Linked DNA regions of Homo sapiens: regions 1, 2 and 3 are each linked to region 4. The links are contacts of gene promoters, found by promoter capture Hi-C in blood cells and fetal thymus (Javierre and others, 2016). All regions are on one chromosome and are shown on one strand. Each heading gives the region's core, a stretch centred on a gene start or on the middle of the fragment in contact. The rest is flanking DNA. Distances are from core to core; before and after follow the strand shown. Region 1 overlaps RTN3 (reticulon 3). Region 2 overlaps ATL3 (atlastin GTPase 3). Region 3 overlaps ATL3 (atlastin GTPase 3). Region 4 holds the start of PLAAT5 (phospholipase A and acyltransferase 5).

What was found. The method cuts DNA at HindIII sites, captures the fragments that hold promoters and counts their contacts. A CHiCAGO score of 5 or more calls a contact.
Region 1: a contact is called between a fragment that was not itself captured here and the fragment with the promoter of PLAAT5 in region 4, in 1 of 17 cell types (activated CD4 T cells). The highest score is 5.3, in activated CD4 T cells.
Region 2: a fragment that was not itself captured here is called in contact with the fragment with the promoter of PLAAT5 in region 4 in 1 of 17 cell types (megakaryocytes); the score reaches 5.1 in megakaryocytes.
Region 3: a fragment that was not itself captured here is called in contact with the fragment with the promoter of PLAAT5 in region 4 in 13 of 17 cell types (naive CD4 T cells, total CD4 T cells, non-activated CD4 T cells and 10 more); the score reaches 8.7 in naive CD4 T cells.

Annotation. Positions count from the first base shown.
Region 1 is chr11:63,712,517-63,717,290 of GRCh38, reverse strand. All of the region lies in intron 2 of RTN3 (reticulon 3), which reads right to left. Among named protein-coding and RNA genes, the nearest start is that of RTN3, 33 kb to the right of the region's middle. The HindIII fragment of the contact is 1,095 bases long and covers 1,216-2,310 here.
Region 2 is chr11:63,663,139-63,668,661 of GRCh38, reverse strand. The region is part of intron 1 of ATL3 (atlastin GTPase 3); the gene reads left to right. Among named protein-coding and RNA genes, the nearest start is that of ATL3, 5.5 kb to the left of the region's middle. The HindIII fragment of the contact is 7,847 bases long and covers 1-5,523 here.
Region 3 is chr11:63,640,871-63,646,054 of GRCh38, reverse strand. ATL3 (atlastin GTPase 3) reads left to right here. Exons shown (of 13, transcript NM_015459.5): 7 at 1,794-1,886; 8 at 2,560-2,698. All of the region lies in intron 2 of LNCROPM (lncRNA regulator of PLAAT3 mediated phospholipid metabolism), which reads right to left. Among named protein-coding and RNA genes, the nearest start is that of LNCROPM, 27 kb to the right of the region's middle. The HindIII fragment of the contact is 1,164 bases long and covers 2,110-3,273 here.
Region 4 is chr11:63,488,175-63,493,155 of GRCh38, reverse strand. It overlaps PLAAT5 (phospholipase A and acyltransferase 5), which reads left to right and starts at 1,989. Exons shown (of 6, transcript NM_001146729.2): 1 at 1,989-2,269; 2 at 2,823-2,913; 3 at 4,180-4,285. The coding sequence starts at 2,122. The HindIII fragment of the contact is 652 bases long and covers 1,373-2,024 here.

The DNA.
Region 1 (4,774 bases), core at 514-3,013, 220 kb before region 4:
TAGCCATCAATCTACCACACTGTTTTCTAACTTCCCACTCTAACAAATTTTTACTGGGGAAAAGGATCAAAACAAATATCCCAAGGGCTGGTGCTTTCTTACTTCATTTATTTGTTTGTTTGTATTTGAGAGAGGGTCTCCCTCTGTCCTCCAGGCTGGAGTGCCAGTGGTACAATTGTGGCTCACTGCAGCCTTGACCTCCTGGCCTCAAGCTATCCTCCCACCTCAGCCTCCCAAGTAGCTGGGACCACAGGCACATGCCACCACACCTGGCTAATTTTTAAACTTTCTTTTCTTTTTTTTTTTTTTTTGTTTTTTTTTTGAGACGGAGTCTTGCTCTGTCGCCCAGGCTGGAGTGTAGTGGCGCGATCTCTGCTCACTGCAAGCTCCGCCTCCCGGGTTCGCGCCATTCTCCTGCCTCAGTCTCCCAAGCAGTTGGGACTACAGGCACCCGCCGCCACGCCTGGCTAATTTTATTTTTGTATTTTTAGTAGAGACGGGGTTTCACCGTGTTAGCCAGAATGGTCTCGATCTCCTGACCCCGTGATCCGCCTGCCTCGGCCTCCCAAAGAGCTGGGAATACACGCATGAGCCACCGCGCCTGGCCTGATTTTTAAACTTTCTACAGACCTGGTGCCTCACTACATTGCCAGGTTGGTCTCAAACTACTGGGCTCAAGCAACCTGCCCACCTCGGCCTCCTGAAGTGCTGGGATTATAGGCATGAGCCACCACGCCCACCCTGGGCGCTGTCTTTCTTGCATACTGTTGTATCTTTGGAGCTGGGACAAAGTGGGTCTTAAATAAATAGCCCCAAATAAGTGAATCAAAGATTCAGCTTGGTCAGCTGAGACCTAAGTAGGCTCAGGACAGCAATGCCTTGAGCATGAATGAGTAACTGGGAAAATGTGACAGAGAAGTTCTTTTGGGATTACCTTTATTCAGCTTATGTTCCCTTTTTCATGTAAACATCCAAATACCAGATAAAAGCAAAATTATGACTTCATTCAAAATTATTTTATTAAAGACAAAAATATTTTACAATAAATAAAATTCCAGTATTATGAAAATGTTTTGAAATGCCATATAAAGTTCCCCTACTTCAACACATCACTGAAACTTGATGTAATAAGAGCTGAGCTTTAGAAATAGTATAACTGTAATCTGGTTATTAGAATAAAAAGTCTTTGTACATTCAAGGAAAACTGTAAAAGCTTGGTGGCAAAGCTATATTACCAAAACAAAACACTTGAAGTAAACTGTAATTCATATGTAGTTCTAATTTAGTAAACATGGTTTGCATCTACCATTATACAGTATGGATATTCAGCATGACTAGATTAGGGCATAACAGAAATGAAGCCCAGTATTGTAGGTTAAAAGGTTCAAAAATCTGAAGTGTGAAGTACTACAGATTACATTTAAATCAGAAATATTCCACAATCTGAGCCATGCATTGTTACTGAACTTACTAGTCAGTGTTTCTACCACAAAACATTCAGTGAACTAAGGTTATGGTAAAACTGTTTGGGAACCTCTCTCTTCAAACAACTCTGAGGTGAGTCAAACTGACTCCACCCCACAGGGGAGGTTCAGCTTATATGTTTTTTTGTGTGTTTTTTGTGTGTTTTTTTTAGACAGAGTCTAGTTCTGTTGCCCAGGCTGGAGTGCAGTGGTGCAATCTCGGCTCACTGCAACCTCCGCCCCCCAGATTGAAGCGATTTTCCTGACTCAGCCTCCGAAGTAGCTGGGATTACAGGCGTGCACCACCGCACCTGGCTAATTTTTTGTATTTTTAGTAGAGAGCTGGTTTCACCACGTTGCGCAGGCTGGTCTCGAACTCCTGAGCTCAAGCAATCTGCTCGCCTCAGCCTCACAAAGTACTAGGATTACAGGCATGAGCCACTGCACCCAGCCAGCTTATATGTTTTATGGAGATGGAGATTTCAGATGATTCAGATCTGTCATCTTACAGATGAAAGTCTACAAAATGAATTAGTAATAATTCAACAGGTATTTATTGAGTGCCTACCACGTGTCAGACACTGTTTTAGAAACTGGGCTTAAAGCAGTGAATAAAACAGAAAAAATTTCTTGCCTTTATGGAGCTTACAACACAGAGGGGAAGGCAGACAATAAGCAAAATCAATAAGCAAAATGATGACAATAATACAGTGGTGACAGTGCCTGATTAAACAAAAAAGAAAGCAACCAAATTGAATGCTAACCAAAGAATATTCATGTCACTGGGAAGAGCATGGTAAAACTGTCTATGCTTTAGCAGGACACAAACTGGTCAGTTTATCAAGCTTTGCTTTTCTCTTAACTTCTTTGAACCTTTAATACTCCAAAAGTTTCAAGTTAGGTGTAGAATAATCTCAGGTAAAACTAAAGTTAGAAGTCCTATTCTCAGAATACTAACACATCCTCTGCTGAGCACCATGATAGCCTGACAGACTTCAAACATTAAGGATTCTCTAGGCTGGGTGTGGTGGCTCATGCCTGTATCTTAGAACTTTGGGAGGCACAGGAGGGAAAATTGCTTGAGTCCAAGAGGTCAAGATCAGCCTGGGCAACATGCTGAGATCCTGCCCCTACAAAAAATAGAAAAATTAGCCGTGCATGGTGGCACGTGCCTGTAGTCCCAGTCACTTGGGAGGCTGGAGTGGGAGGATTGCTTGAGTCTGGGAGGTCAAGGCTGCAGTGAGCCATGGTCATGCCACTGCACTCCAGCTTGGGTGACAGAGTGAGAAAGAGAAAAGAGAAGAGAAGAGAAGAGAAAAGAGAAAAATGAAAAAAAGGAAAAAAGAAAAAAGATTAATATGACATGGCTACGAGATATATTAAAAAAAAACTCTAATAATGTTCCCTAATAAAAATATTATAACTTACTATTTAGGGTATATCTTGTTTTTTCTGGGGACAAGCTTAGAGGGCAAACAGAGCTCAGTGCTGCATTCATTTCTCAGTGATTGTGAGATGCAGGCGCTAATCATTACTATCAATCAAGCTTTCCCACATGTAGAAAAATAAGGTAGCATCATCATCTGTGCTTTAACTTTAATTATTTTGTTTAGAATTTCAGCAAATGAAAATACCATTTTTGGCTAGCTGAAACCCTAACAAACTTGGACACAGCTGACCTGTACCAAGACAATGGGAAAAATTGGGCTGGAAGTAAAAAGTTTATAAAGGCATGAAAACATTAAATAGAATGAAGACCAAAAACTAATAAGCCTTTTAGAACAGCTCCGATAAGCAAAGACTCTTCCAATTGGTCAGTATGGCACTTGTAGTCACTGCTGTTGCCCAAGTCAGTACCTGGCAAAAGGACAGAAAAGTCCAGTGAATCTGAAGGCAGTTAGCTCTTAAAATACTATACACTGTAAAGCTGTCTGGTGGAATAAATCTGGATTATTTTATGTCTCAGAAAATGTCTACTATCTTTCTTTTCTCAAAAGATTCATCCCTTCACATGCACTCTAAGAGCCTTTCAACACTACTCAAAACAAATCGCCATCAAAACTCTCATTATGAACATTTTCTAAATTAGTTCTTTGCTATAATGGAATTTAGTGTGGATATTCATTTTCAAGAGTTCTAATCACTTAAAAACATGGTGCTACTCTAATTATTAACAAATAAAGTCATAGATCTAGTAGATTTACTAAAAAGGGAATCAGCTGAGTGTGGTGGCTCATGCCTGTAATCCTAGCACTTTGAGAAGCCAAGGCAGGGAGACAGCTTGAGCCCAGGAGTTCGAGACCAGCCTGGGCAACACAGTGCGACCCCATCTCTACAAAAAAATTAAACAATTAGCCAGTCATGGTGGCATACACCTGTGGTCCTGACTACTTGGGAGGCTGAAGTGGGAGGACTGCTTGAGCCCAGGAGGTCGAGGCTGCAGTGAGCCATGCACTCCACCCTGGGTGACAAAGCAAGACCTTGTTTCAAAAAATGGGGGGTGGGTGAGAATCGATATATGGTAAGAGGTAAAAAATGTCATATCCCCACAATGATCATGAACATGTTCTCAAACTTATCAAGTACTCAGCTCCATGATTACTCATCTTCTTAAACTCTAAATACTCCACTGAGATATATTATCTGAAACAAAGACTAAGAAATTAAGTTGGTAGTCATATTCTAAATTCTAAATTTTTAGACCCAAATAAAAAATTCTTTTATATTTTTGAGAGATGGAATTTCACTCTTTTTGCCCAGGCTGGAGTGCAATGGTGTGACCTTGGCTCACCGCAACCTCTGCCTCCTGGGTTCAAGCGATTCTCCTGCCTCAGCCTCCGGAGTAGCTGGGATTACAGGCATGCGCCACCAGGCCTAGCTAATTTTGTATTTTTAGTAGAGACGGAGTTTCTCCACGTTGGTTAGGCTGGTCTGGAACTCCCAACCTCAGGTGATTCGCCTGCCTCGGCCTCTCCAAGTGCTGGGATTACAAGTGTGAGCCATTGCGCCCGGCCAAAAAATTCTTATTAAAAAATTCGAAGTCGGCCAGGCACGGTGGCTCACGCCTGTAATCCCAGCACTTTGGGGGCCGAGCTGGTCCTGATCACGAGGTCAGGAGTTCAAGACCAGCCGGATCAACATGGAGAACCCCATCTCTACTAAAAATACAAAAAAATTAGCCGAGTGTGGTGGCGCATGCCTATAATCCCAGCTACTCGGGAGACTGAGGCAGGAGAATCGCTTGAACCCAGGAGGTGGAAATTGCGGTGAGCCAAGATCACACCACTGCACTCTAGCCCAGGCAACAATGT
Region 2 (5,523 bases), core at 575-3,074, 180 kb before region 4:
GATTCAGCCCTCTCCTTGGATTTTCTGAATCTTCAGTACCATTTAGTCATAGATAATTTTTGTAAACCTATGAAGCATTACACAATCCTTAGTCAACAACAAAAAATATGGTTTTGTTCAGCCTTCTGTGCTATGGCGAAAAGATTTTCTACAACAGACAAATATAAAATTTGCCCAGTATTCTGGTTAATTAGATTTAAATAGTATTTTCACTGAAACAGCCTTAAGCGTATTGCAGTGTATCTACTGGCACAATCACTGCCTTAAGACAAAACGGTATATAAAAGCACCCACCCCTCCACCACCAGAAGGAACCACACCCAGCAGTTCTAGAGTTGGCTAAGGTCTTAGTATACTTACTCTTGCCTGTGATGATGTTTTCTCTGGCTTTGTCAGTTAGAAACCTTAAAGACTGCCAGCAAGAACAAGGCATGAAAATGGTATGCCTCTGTTTTGGGTGTGTTGCTCTTGCCCTTTGGAGAATATGATATTTTATAAGGAGACTGGAAAACTCAGGTCATAACTTTACCCTGAGTCATACATGAATCTACTCAGCAAAGTGTTTCTGTGACTGGTTGGTTACTTTGTATTCAGAACTCTTTGAATGGTAAGGATAAACACCAAGGCTGACTCTACTCAGTGGTTCTTAACCTATGGTAATATTGCCTCTTCCTGCCCCTGGAGCATTTAGCAATGACTGGAGACGTTTTTTGGGTGTTAGAACCTGTTGTGGGGAGTGTTACTGGTATCTAGTGGGTAGAGGCCAGGGATGCTGCTCAATAGCCTGTAGTGCGTAGGATAGCCCCCCACAACAGTTGTGCAGCTCCAATGTCAATATGTCAGTAGTGCTGAGGTTGAGAAACCCTAGTCTACACTGTCATTTTTTTTTTTTTTTTTTGATACAGAGTCTCGCTCTGTCACCCAGGCTGGAGTGCAATGGCGCGATCTCAGCTCACTGCAGCCTCCATCTCCCAAGTTCAAGTGATTCTCCTGCTTCAGCCTCCCGAGTAGCTGGGACTGCAGTCATGCACCACCACGCCTGGCCAATTTTTTTGAATTTTCAGTAGAGTCAGGGTTCCACTATATCGGTCAGGCTGGTCTCAAACTCTTGGCTGCAAATGATCCATCCGCCTTGGCCTCCCAAAGTGGTGGGATTACAGGCGTGAGCCATTGCACCCGGCCCACTTCTCAGGAATCCTAAACTCTTGGGAGGCTGAGGTGGGAGAATCACTTGAACCTGGGAGGTGGAGGTTGCAGTGAGCAGGAATGACGCCACTGCTCACCAGCCTGGGCGACAGAGCAAGAATCTGTCTCAAAAAAAAAAAAATGCTTTCTAATTATACAAAGATTTTCAACATTTTCTACATACTTGAACTGATGAGTGATAGAATATTATCATGAGCTATTTACAGCAATGAAGTAGTCCCCATTATCTGAGGGGCATATATTGTAAGGCCCCCAGTGGATGCCTGAAACTGCTGATAGCACTGAGCCCTGTATACACTACGTTGATCAGTGAGAAGGCTACTAAATAACTAATGGGCATGGTAGCATATACAGTGTGGATACTCTGGAAAAGGGAATGATTCATGTCCCAGGCAGGATAGCACAAGATTTCATCATGGTACTAAGAACTGCGTTGCAATCTTAAGACTTACGAATTGTTTATTTCTGGAATTTTAAACATATGTTGTAAATTCACATAAATACATATGAATGATAGATGTAACAGTGGTCCAGCTGTAGCTTTGTGTCTGTGCAAAAACATCACGTTATCCATATTCATGTAAGTAATGTAATACAGCATTAACTGTTGTTGCAGTATGCAGAATTAGACCTTGGAAAATAATTGCTTCTCTAAAGGGACAAGGCATGTAAAGTTGCCACTTACAGATATTTTTAGTACCCTCCCCGGAGACTAGATCTCCAGAGTTTAAGATTCCTGACAAGTGGACCGGGCACGGTGGCTCATGCCTGTAATCCCAGCACTTTGAGAGTCTGAGGTGGATAGATCACTTGATCGCACGGTGTGCGATCCACCCCCCTCGGCCTCCCAAAGTGCTGGGATTACATGCATGAGCCACCACACCCAGTTAGCACTTGACCCATTTTAGTGATGAAACTGAAAACTAGACATGCCCAGGATCACACAGGTTGTTAGTGGCAGGGCTGGAACAGGAACTTGTGTTTTGAGTCCTAAATTTGTATATTTCCACAGGTTACTTCTGAGAGTAAGCAGGTGAATCTGTCCCTTAGGCAGTTGTACATTTAGACTAAATGCAAGTTAGAGATCTGTGAAGTTGTATCATCCAAATAGAGGGTAGGCCGGGCGCGGTGGCTCACGCCTGTAATCCCAGTACTTGGGGAGGCTGAGGCGGGTGGATCACCTGAGGTCAGGAGTTCGAGACCAGCCTGGCCAAGGTGGTGAAACGCCACCTCTACTAAAAATACAAAAATTAGGCGTGGTGGTGGGTACCTGTAATCCCAGCTACTTAGGAGGCTGAGGCAGGAGAATTGCTTGAACCCAGGAGGCAGAGGTTGCAGTGAGATGATACTGGGAGGCTGAGGTGGGAGGATTGCCTGAGCCCGGTAGGTTGAGGCTGCAGTGAACCATGATTGCACCACCGCACCTCTAGCCTGTGCAACAGAGTGAGACCCAGTCTTAAAAAAGGTGTAATATATAAGCAGCTCCATTTAACTTGCATTATTGGTGTGTACAGCTCAAAATAATTCTTCCCTTACATAAGCCCAAACCCAAGGATCACTGTCAGTGAACAACATCTTTTTTTTTTTTTGAGACAGGGTCTTGCTCTGTTGTCCTGATTGTAGTGCAGTGGTTGACTTACTGCAACCTCTGCCTCCCAGGTTCAAGTGATACCAAGTAGCTGGGATTACAGGCGCGTTACCACCAAGCCTGGTTAATTTTCATATTTTTAGTAGAGATGGGGTTTCGCCGTGTTGCCCAGGCTGGTCTCGAACTCCTGATCTCAGGTGATCTGCCTGCCTCAACCTCCCAAAAGTGCTAGGATTATAGGCGAGACCTCCCATGCCTGGCCAACAAGATCTTTTTTAATCTGGTGGGTGTTGATAATCATGCTTATATTACTGGTGTGAAGAGAAATGCAGAATCACCCCAGCTCTTCCAACTAAACAGAGCCTGGTTCCCTTCCTTTATTCTTGGGTACCGTGCTACAGGGAGAGGAAGAGATGAGTAAGGACTTTTCCCCCATAGCTGTCCTCAGTAGTCTTCAGCTTCTCTTGAAGTGCAGTTCACTGTACACAACTGTATACATTCTTCTTTTTTTTTTTTTTTTTTGAGATGGAGTCTCACTCTGTCACCCAGGCTGGAGTGCAATGGCTTAATCTCAGCTCACCGCAACCTCCGCCTCCCGGGGTTCAAGCGATTCTCCTGCCTCAGCCTCCCGAGTAGCTGGGATTACAGGCATGTGCCACCACGCCCAGCTAATTTTGTATTTTTAGTAGAGACAGAGTTTCTCCATGTTGGTCAGGGTGGTCTTGAACTCCTGACTTCAGGTGATCCACCCACCTTGGCCTTCCAGTGTTGGGATTGACAGGCATGAGCCCCCATGCCCAGTCTCAACTGTATACATTCTTATCATTGGATTACCCCATCTTGTAACCACGTAACTTTATCTTCCATGTCTACTGCTCTGACAATGCCACTTGGATCCTTTGGGTTGTAGCCTTCAACCACATTATGGTACATGTCATTCATTCATTTTACAATAGTTTATTGGCCGGGTGCGGTGGCTCACGCCTGTAATCCCAGCACTTTGGGAGGCTGAGGCAGGTGGATCACAGGGTTAGGAGTTCGAGACCAGCCTGGCCAATATGGTGAAACCTTCTATCTACTAAAAATACAAAAATTAGCCGGGCATGGAGGTGCATGCCTGTGGTCCCAGCTGCTCGGGAGTCGCTTGAACCCGGGAGGCGGAGGTTGCGCTGAGCCAAGATCGCGCCACTGCACTCCAGCCTGGGCAACAGAGCGAGACTCCGTCTCAAAAAAAAAAAACAAAAAAACAATAGCTTATTGTATGTGCTGTGTGTCATTACATTGATATTGCTCATTACATTCACATTGCTCAGTACGCTTTTTTTTAAAAGACAGAGTTTCGCTCTGTTGCCCAGGCTAGAGTGCAGTGGCGCAATGTTGGCTCACAGCAACCTCTGCCTCCCGGGTTCAAGCGATTCTCCTGCTTCAGTCTCCCGAGTAGCTGGGATTACGGGTGCCTACCACCACGCCCAGCTAATTTTTTATATTTTTGGTAGAGATGGGGTTTCACCATGTTGGCCAGGGTGGTCTCGAACTCCTGACCTCAAGTGACCTGCCTGCCTCGGCCTCCCAAGGTGCTGGGATTACAGGCATGGGCCACCGAGGCTGGCCTCGCTCAGTAAACTTTTAATAGTGAAATAGATAAAACAAAAAGATCTGGTATGATGAACTTAATTGTAAAGTCCTGGAAGACTGTTGTGTTGGCTGCTAGGCTTGGCTGTATTTGATGGAGCCTCCAAATAAGTGATTTAAGCAAGGTAGACATTTATTTTTCTTTCACACAGAAGTGAACCAATATGGCAGTTCTGCTATACGAAATCTGACCTCTCTTGTTTCTCCAGCATTCCTGGGGTGTTGCCCTCATATGCCTGGCCCAAGATGATTCACTCCCACTTTTACATCTAGCCAGCAAGCAGGGGGAAAATGCCTGATCTGGAAGTTGTGTCTGTTATTTCCAGTCACTTCCCATTGTTCAGAATTTAGTCACCTGGTCATATCCTAGCTATAAATTTGGGTTGGAAATGTGTTTCTTCTGGGCAGTTGTATGCCCAGCTAAAAATCTATTATATAGCAGGAGGGAGAAATTAATATTGGGGGAACAACCAGACATCTCTGCCACAATCAAGACTTTGTTTTGTATTTCTTTGAGTGCTACACAGTACTTAACACTGTGGCTTATCCCTGAAGTCTGAATAAATTCTTCTCATTAGTTCTTTGTATGAAAGACTGAAGGTCTTTGGATCTTGGATTTACCTGCTGCTGGGGCAATAAGAACCCTAAGAGATTATTCACAGAAGTGTTTCCTTTTTAATCCAGGCAATAACAGGAAAGAAAAGTATTAGTATACATTGATTACAATGATAGCATGACATTTAACCTATATTTATAACTTGTTTTCCAATAGTCTGCAAAAACTTAAAAAGTAGGAAGAAGCCAGCCACAGTGGCTATCATCCACATTCACAGTGGCCTATCATCCCAGCATTCTGGGAGGCTGAGGTGAGAGGATCACTAGAGCCCAGGAGTTTGAGACTAATGTGGGCCACATAATGAGACCCCCATCTCTACAAAAAAATTAAAAAATTAGCCAGGCATGGTGGCACACACCTGTACTGCCAGCTACTCTGGTGGCTGAGGTGGGAGGATTGCTTGAACCCAGGAGTTTGAGGCTGCAGTAAGCTAGGATTGCACCACTGCATTCCAGCCTGTGTGCCAGAGCAAAATACTGTC
Region 3 (5,184 bases), core at 1,442-3,941, 150 kb before region 4:
CAGTGGCTCATGCCTGTAATCCCAGCACTTTGGGAGGCCAAAGCAGGCAGATCACCTGAGGTCAAGAGTTCGAGACCAGCTTGGCCAACATGGAACCTGTCTCTACTAAAAATACAAAAATCAGCTGGGCGTGGTGGTGGGTGCCTGTAATCTTAGCTACTCAGGAGGCTAAGGCAGGAGAGTCGCTCGAGCCTGGTAGGTGAAGGTTACAGTGAGCCGAGGTCATGCCACTATACTCCAGCCTGGGCGACAGAGCAAGACTTTGTCTCAAAAAAAAAGAAAAAAACAAAAATAAAATAAAATAAAAAGGTCGTGCACGCCTGTAGTCCCAGCTACTCGGTGGGGTTGAGGTAGGAGGATCACTTAAGCCTAGGAGGTCAAGGCTGCAGTGAGCCATGATTGTGCCACTGCACTCCAGCCTGGGTAACAAAGCAAGACCGTCTCAACACAAACACACACATACACACTCACTCACTCTCTGTCTCTCTCTGTCTCTCTCTCTCTCTCTCTCTCTGCAAAAAGTCTTTGCTGACCTATGCCTCAGTTCAGTGTTTCTTGAGAATGAGGAAGCACAGCAGCCTCAGTCAATGGGATTAGAGGTGCTTTCAGTGTGTAAGCCTTATTTCTTTTCTTTTCTAATTTATTTTTTTTTTTTGAGATGGAGTTTCTTTCTAAAATTTTGCCCAGGCTGGAGTGCAGTAGCATGATCTTGGCTCACTGCAACCTCTGCCTCCCAGGTTCAAGCAATTCTCCTTCCTCACCCTCCTGAGTAGCTGGGATTTCAGGCGCCCGGCTAATTTTTTGTATTTTTTGTAGAGATGGGGTTTCATCATGTTGACCGGCTGGTCTCAAACTCCTGAGCTCAGGTGACCCACCTGCTTCGGCCTCCCAGAGTAAAGGGATTATAGGCATGAGCCACGGTGGCTGGCCTTCCTTTCTAATGCTGAAAACAGACCTGATTTTTTTCTTTTTTGGAGACAGAGTCTCGCTCTGTCACCCAGGCTGGAGTGCAGTGGCGTGATCTCGCCTCACTGCAACCTCCTCCTCCTGGGTTCAAGTGATTCTCCTGCCTCAGCCTCCCAAGTAGCTGGGATACAGGCGTGAGCCACTGTGCCCGGCCACAGATCTGATTTTATGATTAGCTGGTGCCATGTGGTTTTCTCTTTTGTCCTTTACTGTATTCCCCATAGATTTCTTTAAGGCAGAGTCCCAAATTTACCATTTTCTCATTAATGTCTTCCTTCTGTTCCTACTAACCTGTGGGAACAAAAATAGCAGATAGGATATATTGACCTCATATTTGGCTTAAACATGTCCCTCCAGTGTTTGTAAAACTTCTAAGACATTACAGAATAGATAAATCTGGCCGGGTGTGGTGGCTCACACCTGTAATCCCAGCACTTTGGGAGGCCAAGGCCACAGGATTGCTTGAGGCCTAGAGTTCAAGACCAGCCTGGGCAACAGAGCAAGACCTTGTCTATATAAAAAAATTAAAAAATAAGCCAGGAGTAGTGGCATGTGCTTGTAGTCCCGGCTACTTGGGAGGCTGAGGTGAAAGGATCACTTGAGCCCAGGAATTCTAGGCTACAGTGAGCTATGATCATGCCACTGCACTCTAGCCTTAGTGACGGAGCAAGGCCCAATCTCTTTAAAAAAAAAAAAAAAAAAAAAAGGTAAATCCTTCTACTTTACCCCCTTTGTAGAAGCTGGCATTATGCAAAGATGTATTGCAGTTGTTCTCTTGAAAATGTGTTTATGCATGTTAAAATATGTTCCGCTCTTTTCTTAAATAGACACTGATGTTTTTGGTTAGAGATTGGAGTTTCCCTTATGAATATAGCTATGGACTCCAAGGAGGAATGGCATTTTTGGATAAGCGTTTACAGGTAAGTGGGACTATAATCTTCTGATGAATTATCTCAAAGTAGTGATAGCTTTCTCATTTGCTTTTGGCTATTGTGTTTAAAGCAATTATTGAAAATGATATTGAATACATTAACTATATATGAATCTTAACACAAGCTAATATTTATTCTTGACAAGATTAAAGAACCTGTATATACAGTACACAGGAACTGTAGAAGAAAACTCTGGGCCAGTGCCCAAGCTTTGATTATAATTTCCATTTTACATTTTAAACCAAGTTCTATATGTGTCTTTAGAAATCATACTCAGAATTTTAGTTATGTTATTCTTCAAAATTTTTACTTATTTTGGGATAGATATAAACAGGCCTAACCTGTTCCCCCAAACCAAAACACAGGAATCCTTTGTCTGTCACTACTAATTGGTTAGATCCTCCTTCATCCCCACAAACCATCTCTTGTGTAATACTCATTTTAATGAAACTCTTATGCACCTGTTTGCTAGCTATAGGAGTCAAGCCGTAGGTAATCAGATTTGTGTGTTTATTGCTTCTTAGGGTTCTGAGTTTTCTCATTTGGCCACTATGATCCATCAGAGTTGAGGAGTCTTCTTTCCTTTGTCCTTATACTAGTTGTCCCTAGTGAAGAAAACCAAATGACTTTTGGTTGGTAAATTCTTGGTCTTCATTGGCAGGTGAAGGAACATCAACATGAAGAAATTCAGAATGTTCGAAATCACATTCACTCATGTTTCTCCGATGTCACCTGCTTTCTCTTACCACATCCAGGACTCCAGGTGGCCACAAGCCCTGACTTTGATGGGAAATTAAAAGGTGTGTTCCAGGTGTTATTTTAAACCTGTGATTCGATCTTTGGAATTAAAAATAATGAATCACTTACAAATCAAGTGAATGCTTAAGAAAAATGGTATGCTCTCTTAGAAAGAGTAGTATTTAAAGTCTAGTTCAGATTTTGCTCCTGACTTACTGAGACCATCAGAATTAGTTTACCTTGACTTCTCCACCTGAAATGGTGGTGTTCATATCCATTAGTAGTCTTTCTAAAGAGACTCATTATGGTTCTTGGTTTACAAGAGATACAAATGCTAAATAAAGGAAGACTAAACATTAGTCAGCTAATATTAAGTAAAATTAACTTCCTAAGGGAAGGCAGCATGATGCATGGCAGAGCTATTATTTTCATCTTATTTGTGATTATAGCAAAACCTGACGCTGGGTCATGTGCTAATATCAGGAAGTGCTAACTAAATGGTAGGTGAGAGGAATCGTAGTTGGGACTCTTGGGCTCCATTATCTTATCTTTGTTCCTTTTTCATTAAGGCCTTGAGTCATTAAATGGCTAGCCCTTAATTTATACATGTGTTAAACTGAGCACTTGTTAATAAGCTTATCCGAGTCTCTCAGATTCCTGGTAATGTTTGCAACACTATGCTAGGTACTTTGATATTTATGCTCCCAGTAATTCCAATGACTTTGATGTCATTTCCTTTATCTTATATGTGAGGAAAATGGCAAAAATAGTTAAGGAAAAGGAGGAAAGTTAAGTAACTTGCTCAAAGTGCTCAGCTAGTTAAGTAAGTGGTGAGGCGTAGATCTACATCCAAGTTCTTGTTGCTCCAAACCCATACTGGGCTAAAATAGGGGTTCTTCTGTTATATGGAGGAAATCATTTAGAGGATATGTACTGTTTAGTTACTACTAAAAGGTTTTGAAGTGAATGGTTTTCATAGCCTCATATTAAATATAAAATGCATCATTTCCAACCTATTTGATTTAGTTGATCCAAGAAAATGAATGTTCAACTCAAGATTTTCATTCTAGCTGGTCTTAATATTGCAAAGAAACTGAGTTAAAGAGACTTAACCTTTACCTTTTATTTGTCACTTCTCTGATACTTTTACGTGATTGACAGCTTTCCTGAGGAGGAGACTTCCCTGGCCTGTTTCATGGCAATTGAAAAATCTAAGATTATTGCTTGGGGAGAGAAATCCGCTTGGCAAGCAGTGGACCTAGAACCTTTTACCTGAAAAGCAGTTTCAAGGGAGTTTTCAGAGCTGAGTAGGGAGAGAAAGTTAAGTGTGTATGTGTATGTCTCTAGGTAATATATTGTTTAGGATTATAATGCTCCATTATTGGTTGTACTTTTCCCAACCTGAACTCAGATTTGTTCATCACTGATAGGGAATGTGTCCAGTGGAATTCTTAAATGGAGGTGTTAGGAGAGGGTGAATTAGAGTGACTCCTAGTGATTATCCAGTATAAACACACACACATGGCATTCTTCCATAGTTTCAGTTTTAGTATTCCAATGCATTGCTTTAAAGTTCATTTTCATTTTTATCATTCAGGGAGTAGGCAGAGTTTTTTAAAGTTCAGTAACCCTGGCTTTTGAAATTTGTGTCACTTTTGGTTGTATTAATTTCCTGTGGCTGCCTTTAACCAATTACCACAAACTAGGTGGCTTAAGACAACGGAAATTTATTCCCCCGCAAGTCAGGGAGCCAGAAGTCCAAAATGATGGTTGGTTCCGCCCGGAGACTCTGAAGGAGAACCTGTCCCACACTCTCTCCTAGCATCTGGAAGTTGCCAGCAGTCCTTGGCATTCTTTGACTTGTACCTTTAGTTGCCTCCAGGTTCTTTGTTGTCACATGACCGCCTTCTTTGTGTGTTCTGTCTTTTTCTTGTGAGCACACCAGTCTTTGGATTTAGGGCCCACCTTAATCCAGTATGACCTCCTTTCAGCTAATTACATTTGCAAGACTGTTTCCAAATAAGATTTTCTGAAGTTCCAGGTGGACATGCATTTTGTTGGGGAGGGGGATGCTGTTCAACTCACTATACATATATGTAGATTATGAATGGTTTAATCACTAAATATTAAGCGTGTCAAGTTTCATATATAACATTTATAAAATAGGGAACAAATTCTGTATGAGCAATCTTTAGTCTCATAATTATGTACTATTTGGTTTCCTCATCAAGATAGAGCTATATAAAATGCACTGGTAAGTCTTAAATCTTCCTTTCTTACATGAAAAGGCAAGTCCAAAAAGAAGAAATACAAATGGTCATTATATATTAATGAAAATATGTGCAGCATCACAATAATCAGGAAAGCACAAAAGCATTGGTAATAAATGATCATCTTTATGAATTGTAACGTGGCAGCATCAGAATTCAGAATGTTCACGTCCTTTGATCCACTATCCCACTTCTAGGAGTTTATCCTAAGGAACTATTTAAATAAGTGGATAAAAATATGTATACTGGCTGGGTGCAGTGGCTCACGCCTGTAATCC
Region 4 (4,981 bases), core at 740-3,239:
GAGGATGTAAATTAATAAATCTTACCCATTGCTGGTAGAAGTGAAATTGGGACCACCAATTGGGGAAATAGTTCTAGTGTTTTATTGTAAAGTTGGATATTTGTATATACTCCTAGGTATTACATCTTGTGTGATGTCTGCATGCATACACCAGGATACAAATTGGGTTCTTCTCAATTGTTTCCAACCCCAAATTGAAAAAAAAAAAAAAAAAAAAAAGAACCAACAAATCACCAAGTGGCTTTATCACTAGGTCAATAAATTGTGGTATAGCCACATAGTGGAATATTTTACTGCAGTGAAAATGAATTACAGGACTATACAGCACTGTGTATGTATTATAGAAACAACTTTGAAAGAAGAAAATTGCAGAAGAGAACTTAACAGCATGATACCATTTGTCTTAGTCCATTTGGGCTGCTATAACAAAATACCATACGCTGGGTGGCTTATAAACAACAACAATTTATTTCTCACAGTTCTGGAGGCTGGGAAGTCCAAGATCAAGGCACCAGCAGATTCCTGTCTTGTGAGGGACTGGTCTCAGCAACTGCTGTGTTCTCACATGGTGGAAGTGGCTAGGTAGCTCTGCAGGACCTCCTTTATAAGGGCTCTTATGAATCCCACTCATGACCAAAGGGCCCATCTCCTGATACCATCACTTTGGGGGTTAGAATTCTAGCACATGAATTTTATGGAGTCACAAACACCCAGACCATAGCACCATTTTTATAAAGTTTCAGAGAAGCAAAACAAAGTGATGTATTAGGGATACAAAGAAGCGATTTAAAAAACTATTTTAAAAAGTGAGGGTATGACAGACACAAAGGTCAGGATAGACGTTGGGCGTGCAGAGGGAGAAGGGATAAGGAAGGAATCCATAGGTGGGGAGCATCTGTACTAGGAATGTTCCATTTCTTACGTAGGATGGTTTTGTCATGGGTAGTAATTACATTATGTTTCCTAACTGTGTGCGAGAGAGAAGGAAAGAGAAAATCAGTTGGGGAAGACTCAATGCAGAAGCGGCCTGCCTGAAAAGTCACAGCAACAGGCAAAAATAAAACAACCTGGTAAAAAACTCAGGCTCCACCTGCACACAGATAAGCAGACAGGGTCCAGCACAGAAGCCTTTTGTTCTTTGTATAATTAGGGAGCTCCCAGGAAAGTTTTCTCCCCTTTTCAGGCATATACATGGTGGGAACTTTCACAGGGAGGAGGGGGGCTTACCTAAAACAAACCCACAGTTATGCAAACAAAAAAGGCGGTGCTTTGTGCTTGCATAGATACATAACCACAGCTGCGTAAGACAGCTTTACTGATAAGAGAAGTTACTCAAACTACTACAGAGATAAGAGATTTTCTTGCAAAAGCTTTTGAATTCAGCTGTAACAGGGCAATCCACTTGCATACTCAGCTCACTGTGGAGAGCTTTCTTCTTTCGCTTATTAAACTTTCGCTCCCACCTCACCTTATGTCCCGTTCCTTAATTTTCTTGGAGTAGGACAAAGAATCCCGGGTATCAGTCCAGACAAGGAGAAACTGCTACATTAAGGTACATTGGCAAGACTGCAACATGTGTATTCCATGTACTTTTTCATAAGTTATCTATTACGTAAGTGTAGATTTCATTTTCTATATATTTTTAAAAATAAAACAACTCTGAATTGTTCAAGATTTTAACCCCTGATTGTGCCTCCCAAGGCTTCCTAATCTGGTCTCCATTTACCCCTCCAAGTCACGCCTCTGTTCCAAACCGTTCAGCTTCTCCAGCCACTTTAGGCACCACCTCTGAGCCTTTGCTGTTTCCATGACCTTCCCCAAAACGAATAACCTCCTTCGCCCCTCTCCGCCTAAAAGACCCACAGATTCCCGGGCCTCTAAGCGCCCCGTTTCGTCCCATTCTGTTCTCGGACGCGCTCACTGCGCCCGCGCCACTGTCGCCACCCCGCGCGCCTCTGCCGTTTGCAGCCCGCGGCGCTTTCCCCTCCGCGGTTCCTCCCCGAGCCGCCCCCAGTGCCCAAGCTTCCGCGGCTCCGCCGACCAGGGGCCGCGCCGACTGGGAACTCGCCAGGGGCGTAGTCCCCTGCAAGGCCTGGGGGCCGGCGAGGCCGCAGAGGCGGGATGGGCCTGAGCCCGGGCGCCGAGGGGGAGTACGCGCTCCGCCTCCCTAGGATTCCCCCACCCCTCCCCAAACCCGCCTCGCGAACCGCCAGTACCGGGCCCAAGGACCAGCCGCCTGCGCTCAGACGTTCAGCTGTGCCCCACTCAGGTCAGCCCCAAGAATGCGGCTGAAGGACAATCCGCAATTGTCCTTCAGGTCCCAGCGGGCGGTTACCCTCAAAGCTCCTTTTCTTAAGACATTTGGCGATTGTGTTGTCTGTTAGCCATCATGAGCGAGTATTTCAGAACGACCGCTTGTTATAAAGCTAATCAAAGCGAGCCAGGCAGCCACTCCCTCCTTCCCGCTATATCTCATATGGAAGTGAGGCAGTGGTGGCAGCTCCGGAGGGTGGTGTTAAGACCGGCTCTGGCTCGGCAGAGGTTCCTCCCATCGGGCTTAGGATAGAGGCGAGGCGCCCTTCTTCATCCTCTCCCCGATTCCGTTCCCAGGAATCCCAAAGTCTCTCTTTGGCAGAGGAACTGAACCCGCTCCAGCACCTAGTTCCACAACCCTCTCCATTCATCCCAAGATTTTCTGAGGCCTAACCAGGGGCCAGGCACGATGCTAGACTAGAGCTCTGAGCCCACTCTCCGTAGCGGTCAAGGTGCTTGCTCGAACTCTCCTTTCACAGGTCTAAATAGCATTTCCCCCCTTGAATTAGAAGAATCCGTGGGATTCGCAGCGTTGGTCCAGCTCCCAGCCAAGCAGCCTCCGCCGGGCACATTAGAACAGGGCAGAAGCATCCAGCAAGGGTAAGAAGATTGTAAGGTTGGGGTCTTTGGGTGGAAGAAATCTTTTGGAGAATTGACTTGGAATGCAGTTCTGTAAAACAAACCCAGAGGTGGTTTTTGTGTGAACCAGCCAGCCGGTACCCAGCAAGGGGAAGGCTGGTGTGATCCTGGGTGATAACAGATGGTACTGGGCTTGGGACCTGCTGGCCACAGGCATGCGTTGCAGCTGTTTCTAGCCACAAGGCCATTCTCTAGACCCCAGAGAAATGAATGGCTTTAGCAGGAGGCTTACAGTATTGTCCTTGGTCTCACTAATCAGTGAACAATGAGTCGGCCTTTGGCAGATTTCCTGAATTCACTTTCATTAACAACATGATGATTGCTGCTTTAAAAAATTCCGAGGGGCTGAAATTTTGGAGAGGAGCTCTACTGAAAATGAGGGGTGTCCCCTCTGCCCCACACACTATTTTTTTCTGGAGAAGAGTTTAAAGCATGGGAAAAGGTAAAGAAAAAGTCATTTCTGAGTTGGTGGTATACCAGATGTTTACATGTGCTGTGTCCTTTCACCTTCTTGACCACTGTGAGACACATTTTCATCTCTATTTTTAAAGATAATCAAGCTGAGAGTCAGACATTAATTTACTAGCTCAAGGTGGGACAGCAATCATGAAAGCTAGGATTCAAACCTAGATCTTTTGGCTTCGAAGTATTTTACTCTACTATACTACCTTAATTTAATATGCTTGAAAGCATATTCTTGCCTTTCATTTCTGTCCTCTCCTGTAACATTTTGTTTCAAGGGAGAAATATACTGATTTCATTCATATTACTTGCAGTTGCAGTGTTGTGGCTTATCAAGCTTTCTTAGAAATCTGGGGCTAATTATTGGAAGAAAGAGTTCAAGGGGTTTGCCTCTGGGCAGTAGGGCTGGGATGAAAAGGGAAAGGAGGAAGGCTCCTTGCATTTCATTATAAATTCTTATGTACTGGAAACCATGTGCAAGTATCACTTTGATAAACATTAAAAAGACATTATTAGCAAATTAAAAAATAAAAACCCCCAAAACTGCTTCTTGCTATCATTAGCATTTGAACAATTGTCAGAAAACCAGCAAACAGCAATTCTTTTGTATGAAAGCTAATGGGTTCACAGAAACAAACGGGGGGAAATGTTCCCTACAGTCTCCAAACCAAAAGCCATCTTAAAAATCACAAATCTGTAATACAGATTTTCCAATAATTATGAAATAGTGATATTTGTTAACTTTGTGATTGCAAAATCATTTAGGGAGAAGGCTGTAGTTAGCTTGGAGACCACACCCAGCCAGAAAGCAGACTGGAGTTCAATTCCAAAGCCTGAGAATGAAGGCAAGTTAATAAAGCAAGCAGCTGAGGTAGGTGTAACAAGAATTCTCAAAGTGACTATCTTTAACCTCCTGGCAACTTCTCTACATATTGTATTTTACTTTGTTTCTAGGGGTGTCCAATCTTTAGGCTTCCCTGGGCCACACTGGAAGAAGAAACGTCTTGGGCCACACATAAAATACACTAACACTGACGATAGCTGTTGAGCTTAAAAAAAAAAAAAACCCACAAAAAAGTCTCATAATGTTTTAATAAAGTTTACAAATTTGTGTTGGGCCACATTCAAAGCTGTCCTGGGCTGTATGTGGCCTGTGGGCTGCGGGTTGGACAAACTTGGTTTAGATGGTCTAATAAATATCCTGATTTGGGATGTTGGTTATGCTTTGTTTTAAAGCAGTTTTATTGAGGTGTAATTGACATATAGTAAACTCCACATATCTAAAATATACAATTTGATAAATTTGGCATATATATATGCCAGTGAAGTGTATAGTTTGATACATTTTGACATCTATATATATATCCTGTCAAATCTTCACCACAATCAAGATAATGAATAATCTCTGTCATTTACAAAAGTTTCTTTGTGCCTTTTGTAATCCCTCTCTCTTCCCATACCACTCCCATCCCCAGGCAACAACTGATATGCTTTTTGTCACCATAGATGTGTTCACATTTTTAGAGATTTATATGAAATCATATTGTATGTGCACTTCTTTGTCTGT